Linked DNA regions of Homo sapiens: region 2 is linked to region 1. Evidence: promoter capture Hi-C in human tissues and cell types (Jung and others, 2019). All regions are on one chromosome and are shown on one strand. The core of a region is centred on a gene start or on the middle of the fragment in contact, and the rest is flanking DNA. Distances in the headings are between cores, read along the strand shown.

Region 1 (2,700 bases), core at 18-2,517:
CTCTTGACCCACTGTGTGAATCTGCACCAAGCTCTTCCCATCGGTAGACCTCACTTCCTTAATGTAAAACCAGGGGGATGGAGAGGAAGACCCTGAAGACGTTTCTGTGGCAGAACTTTGCAAGACGTCTCCTTTCCAAAGAAAATTAGCCCTTCCAGGGCTTCTGGAAAACCTTTAAGACCCAAAGGAATGCCCCGCTAGTAGTGGAATTTCGGATAGTCGTGGGAGGGGGCTCAGGGGTTCTTGCTGAGACAAAAGGCCCTGAGCCCTGGTCCATGCCTCTCTCCTCCACCTTGTTTCTCTGGCTGAGATGAGGGAAGGGGGCTGGAGCCACTCCCCTTCTCAGAGATGCTCTTAGAGATTGCTGCAGACTGTTTTCTGGCTGGGGAGGAGCTGGCCCCGGCCAATTCTAGAGTCTCACGAATCTCCGGATGGGTGAAGTCACTCTGGGTGGGGAGACAGTTCAGTTAAGCACAGCTTTGGGAGTCAGATCAGCCTGTGTTCAAATCCTGGCTCTGCTGCGGGTCCCTGGACAAGTCAAGTAGCCTGTCCAAGCTGCAGGCTCCTCCTGTGCAAAGTGTGCAGAGTATGACTTTACAGGGTTGCCCTGAGAATTAAGCCACATAATGCAAAGAAAGCTCAGCATAGTATCTGGCCCCTGGTAGACGCTCATTACTGCCCTCACTATGGGGATGAAAATGAAGGAAAAGGACTGGCCTGGGGTCACAGAGCTGGACTCTCCAGTGAGACAGAGCAGCCTCTTCCCAACCCCACTGGAAACACGGAGCCCTAGTGTCCACTTAGCACTCTCTGCTCACCCCAGCCTTACTGTGATCTCTCCCCTCTGCTCCCGTCTGCCCCAGCCGCAAGGCCTCGGGTCTACCGTGGAATGAGGGGATCCCTAGGCCCAGGGAAGGGAGGCGCGCTTAGGGGTGGGGGCACAAACGGGCATCTCGGTGGCACTTGTCCTCTCTCTACCCTGGGAAAGGGCAGAAAGCGGCAGCCAAGTCAGGGCTGTGCACGGGAGAGAGAGTGACCGCGGCGGGGGCGCGGAGAACCCCGCTGGGCTCCCGCTCGGTGAGAGGGCGGGAGCCGTGGGTCCGCGAAGCCCCTTCCTCCCCGGCAGAGGACCTAATAGGCAGCGGGGGCGGGAGTGGGGGCGCCCTCCGGTCCTCACCCCGCCCCCGCACCTCTCCCCGCAGCGGGGGCGCCCCGCCCCCCGGGCGCCCGACGTGGACGCGGCCGCCGCCACCGCCGCCGCGCGGGAGTCGCTGTCCGCGGAGCCGACATGCAGGCGGCTCGGGGCGGCGCAGGGCGGCCGGAGCGGCCGGGCCGGCCGGGCCGGGGGCCGGAGCGCGAGCGCGAGCGGCCGCCGGGCGCCGGAGCCGCGTCCCCCTGCGCCGCCCCGGGCCTGCCGGCCGGAGGAGCCACCATACACCCCGGGTCGCCGAGCGCCTGGCCGCCCCGCGCCCGCGCCGCGCTCCGCCTGTGGCTGGGCTGCGTCTGCTTCGCGCTGGTGCAGGCGGGTAAGGGGGCCCGGGGCGGGGGGCCGGCGCCGGGGCAGGCTCCTCTCGAGCCCAGCTACCTGGGAGTCCCCTGGTCCTTTCTCTGCCCCCTAGGGACTCCTGTCTCGGCCCAAACACTGCTCCCCTAACCCAGCCCCCAGCGTCTTCCTACCTCCTTGACCCCCAGACCTGTCCTTCAGTTTCCAAATCTCCCCTGTCACCTCAGCCCTGGGTTTCCTAGGGTCTTGTGGTCCCCAGTCCCCTAATCCCATTCCCCTAACCCCAGGTCTTTGCCTCAGCTTCCCTAGCTCCCTTCTTTGACCCAGGGAGCAGCTGAGGACACCAGTTCCCCCACCTGGGCCTCTCTCTGTGTCCCCAGGACCTCTCAAAGCCCTGCAAGCCAACTCTGCAGGGGCAGATGGGGTCCCGCTGTGCAGGAGCACGTGTGAAGGGGATGGGGGCTGGCACCTGAGGGCGCAGGGCGTGGGGTGGGCCCCGGCACCCCTGATCTGGTACAGTGTCTGGCCTGCCCCATGGGGCCGGCCCGTCCTTGCCCAGCCTCTCCTGCCACTCTGTCTTTGTCCCTCCTGGCTGCCGCTGCCCGGCTCATCTCTCCCTCCGTGGCTCGGGGAGCGCTCTCTCGCAGCTGTCTTTCTCAGATGCCCCACTTCTCTGTCCTCTGGTTCTGTGTCTGCCACCACCTGTCTGTGTCCTGTCTCTCCACCTCCCCCTCCATGTCTGGCTCTGTCTCCCTCAGGTCCCAGGCCCAGCCCCCTGGGTCTCAAGTTCACTCTCTGTGGGGTGAGGGGTGCTGCTCAGGCGCAGCTCTGCCCCGTGCTGCACCTGCCCCTTGGAAGATACTGAGCCTTATGTGACTGCACTGCCCCTCTCCTGGACGGTTTTCCTCACTGACCCCCACTATCCCTATCACTCTCACCCCCACTTCCCTCCTGTCTCTTCTGGAGTGATTCCTCATTCATCCTCTTCCCCTACCTGTTCTCTCCTCTCCACTCGCCATGGAGGGGCCCTGCTCTGAGTGACCCCATCTTCCCCTGCCACCTCCCCACCTGCATCTTGGGGCTGGAAGAGCATGGATAAGAGGCTCACACAGACTCTTCCGCAGGCTTTATTCTGCCTGGGCCACCACAGCTCTGAGGATACTTCTGTTCTCCTCACTCCCAGTCCAGGGCTCACC
Region 2 (2,838 bases), core at 168-2,667, 70 kb before region 1:
TGCCTAGTTATTTGGAGGATTAAATATGAACATATGTTAAAACACCTGATATGTGGCGACTGCACACAGTACCTGTTCATTAAGTAAATACATTAGTTCTCTGAAAAGTCATTGCAGGAAAATGCCTACTGACTGTTTTGATGCTCTGCTGTCTTGAATTGGATGTTTGGTTCTATCCCCAGTGGCAGATGCCTGGAGAGCCCTCAAGAATCCCAGCATTGGGGAAAGCAGCATTGAAGGCCTGACTAGTGTATTGAGCACTAGTGGAAGCCCTACAGATGGACTTAGTGTTATGCAAGGTCCTTACAGCGAAACGGCCAGCTTTGCAGCCCTCTCAGGGGGCACGCTGAGTGGCGGCATTCTCTCCAGTGGCAAGGGAAAATATAGCAGGTAAACAAATAGATAATTTCTGACAGAAATGGTTAGAATTATAAGAAGTAACACATTGAGCCATTTCTCTGTGCCAGGCTTGTGCCACGTATCATCTTATTTTGATTTAATTGTCAATGGTTTTGTTTTGTTTTGTTTTTACTTTTTTATTTTTAAAGACAGAGTCTCACTCTGTGGCTCAGGCTGGAGTGCCATGGCGTGATCTCGGCTCACTGCAAGCTCCGCCTCCTGGGTTCAAGCGATTCTCCTGCCTCAGCCTACTGAGTAGCTGGGATTACAGGCACCCGCCACCACGCCCAGCTAATTTTTTGTATTTTTAGTAGAGATGGAGTTTCACCATGTTAGCTAGGATGGTCTCAATCTCCTGACCTCGTGATCCGCCCGCCTTGGCCTCCCAAACCGTTGGGATTACAGGCATGAGTCACTGCGACAGGCCTTTTTTTTTTTACTTTTACAAATAGGAAACAAGCTTAGAAAAAAAGGTTACGTCAGTTATGCAAAGTTCATTGTTCTTTCCATTGCACCATAGCTGCCTCTATATAAAGAATAATCCTGACTTGAGATTCCCCCTTGACTGCCTGAGGCTGCCTGCTTCAGGAAGGGAGAGTAGGCATTTTTATAGAATTCGTAAAATGCTCTCCGTTAGGCTTGTCATTGGCTTTCAGTAGCATTTATGCTGTATCATGGCTTATTTATTTTATTTTATTTTTTTGAGACGGAGTCTTGCTCTGTCGCCCAGGCTGGAGTGCAATGGTGCAATCTTGGCTCGCTGCAGCCTCCACCTCCTGGGTTCTAGTGATTGTCCTGCCTCAGCCTCCCAAGAGGCTGGGACTACAGGCGTGCACCACCATGCCTGGCTAATTTTTGTATTTTCAGTAGAGACAGGGTTTCATGTTGGCCAGGCTGGTCTCAAGCTCCTGACCTTGTGATCCACCCGCCTCAGCCTCCCAAAGTGCTGGGATTACAAGCATGAACCACCACACCCAGCCCATCATGGTTTATTGATAGTGGGCTTTGGGGATTTTTTTTTGTTTTTTTTCTCACTGTGTCATCCAGGCTGGAATGCAGTGGCACAATCATGGCTCACTGCAGCCTCAACTTCCTGGACTCAGGCAATCCTACCACCTCAGCCTCCTGAGTAGCTAGGACTACAAGTGCACACACCACACCCAGCTAACATTTTAAATTTTTTGTAGAGATGGGGTCTTGCTCGGTTACCCAGGCTGGTCTTAAACTCCTGGCCTGAAGCCATCCTCCCAACTTGGCTCCCAACGTGCTAGGATTATAGGCATGAACCATTGCCCCCAGCTGGTTTAGTGATACTGCAATCCTTATTACCTTTCTATTTCCATTTGCTAGATAAGGAAAATCAATTCTATGTACTTGTGTTGAAAATATGTAAAGCTTTGTAACTAAAAAGATTGTGACTTGCTTGGTCATTTCACTAGTTAGGCAGACCAGAGTGTATATTTTCAGAGGAGCATAACATGTTGCCTGAGAAGCAGTTGAATGCAACGGAGAAGAAAGGCCTAGGGAGGGGTAAAGGTAGAACAAAGCAGGATAGGAAGGTAGAGGAGATGGTTGCCTTCAGCTATCCAAAGGACCTTCAACTGTGAAAAGGATTAGACTTCTATGCCTCATACCAAAAGGTAGATTAAGATGACTTGGCAGAAGCTAAAGGGAAACTAATTTTGGTTCAGTATAGAGAATATAGGGAAAAGCAACATGAAAGCCCAAAGAGGAAAAAGGCTACTTTAGTAGATACTGAGCTGCCTATCCCTGGAAATGTTTACAATGAGACCAGATGGCTATTTGGCTATAAGAAGGATTCAAGCAACAGATGGCAGGTGGACTGGATCTCCCACCTGAGTGCCTGTCAATCACTTGGGAGCCTCTTAAAAATAGACTTCAGGGACCCATCCCAGAATGAGTAGCTTAGAATTTCCTGGAGTGGCACCTAGGGGGTGATCCGTGTTTTGCAAAAGCTCCCCAGGTAATTCTAGCACAGCCGTTGCATGAACCAGCATCTGACAACCACCTAAGTAGGAGCCCTTTCTGAAAGACTCTTCCAACTCAGAGTGATTCTGTGGCAGACCTGAAACTAGAAGCCAGGTCTCTGACACTGTGCACTTTCCATTGCATTCCCTCATTTCCCTGGGCCTTGGCACATTTTTGAAGGGCACCTGAAGCTGGAGCAGCAAAGCAAAGGCTCAGGCAGTAGGATGGAAGCTGCTTGAATGTGCAGCTGCAGGCTGCTACTGACCCGTCTGTGCATCTCATGACTCTGGTTGTCTCTTATCAGGGGATCCCGCCCCCACATGCTGGCATATTCACTGCTGTGCTTTCTTAAAACCAACACCCCTGTAAATAAGCAGACAGACATAATTGGAGACTGACTTGCTGAAACTGCAGCTTAGCCAGTCCAGCTGTTCTAGTTCTGTGAAAGCC

What was found. Contacts are between HindIII fragments. The study calls those that stand out against the background at their distance.
Region 2: a fragment that was not itself captured here is called in contact with the fragment with the promoter of FNDC5 in region 1 in 2 of the 25 tissues and cell types used here (heart left ventricle and mesenchymal stem cells).

What each region holds. Positions count from the first base shown.
Region 1 is chr1:32,869,479-32,872,178 of GRCh38, reverse strand. FNDC5 (fibronectin type III domain containing 5) reads left to right here and starts at 1,267. Exons shown (of 6, transcript NM_001441683.1): 1 at 1,267-1,526. The coding sequence starts at 1,289. The HindIII fragment of the contact is 14,778 bases long and covers 1-2,700 here.
Region 2 is chr1:32,939,804-32,942,641 of GRCh38, reverse strand. RNF19B (ring finger protein 19B) reads left to right here. Exons shown (of 9, transcript NM_001300826.2): 7 at 183-390. Among named protein-coding and RNA genes, the nearest start is that of RNF19B, 24 kb to the left of the region's middle. The HindIII fragment of the contact is 3,693 bases long and covers 1-2,838 here.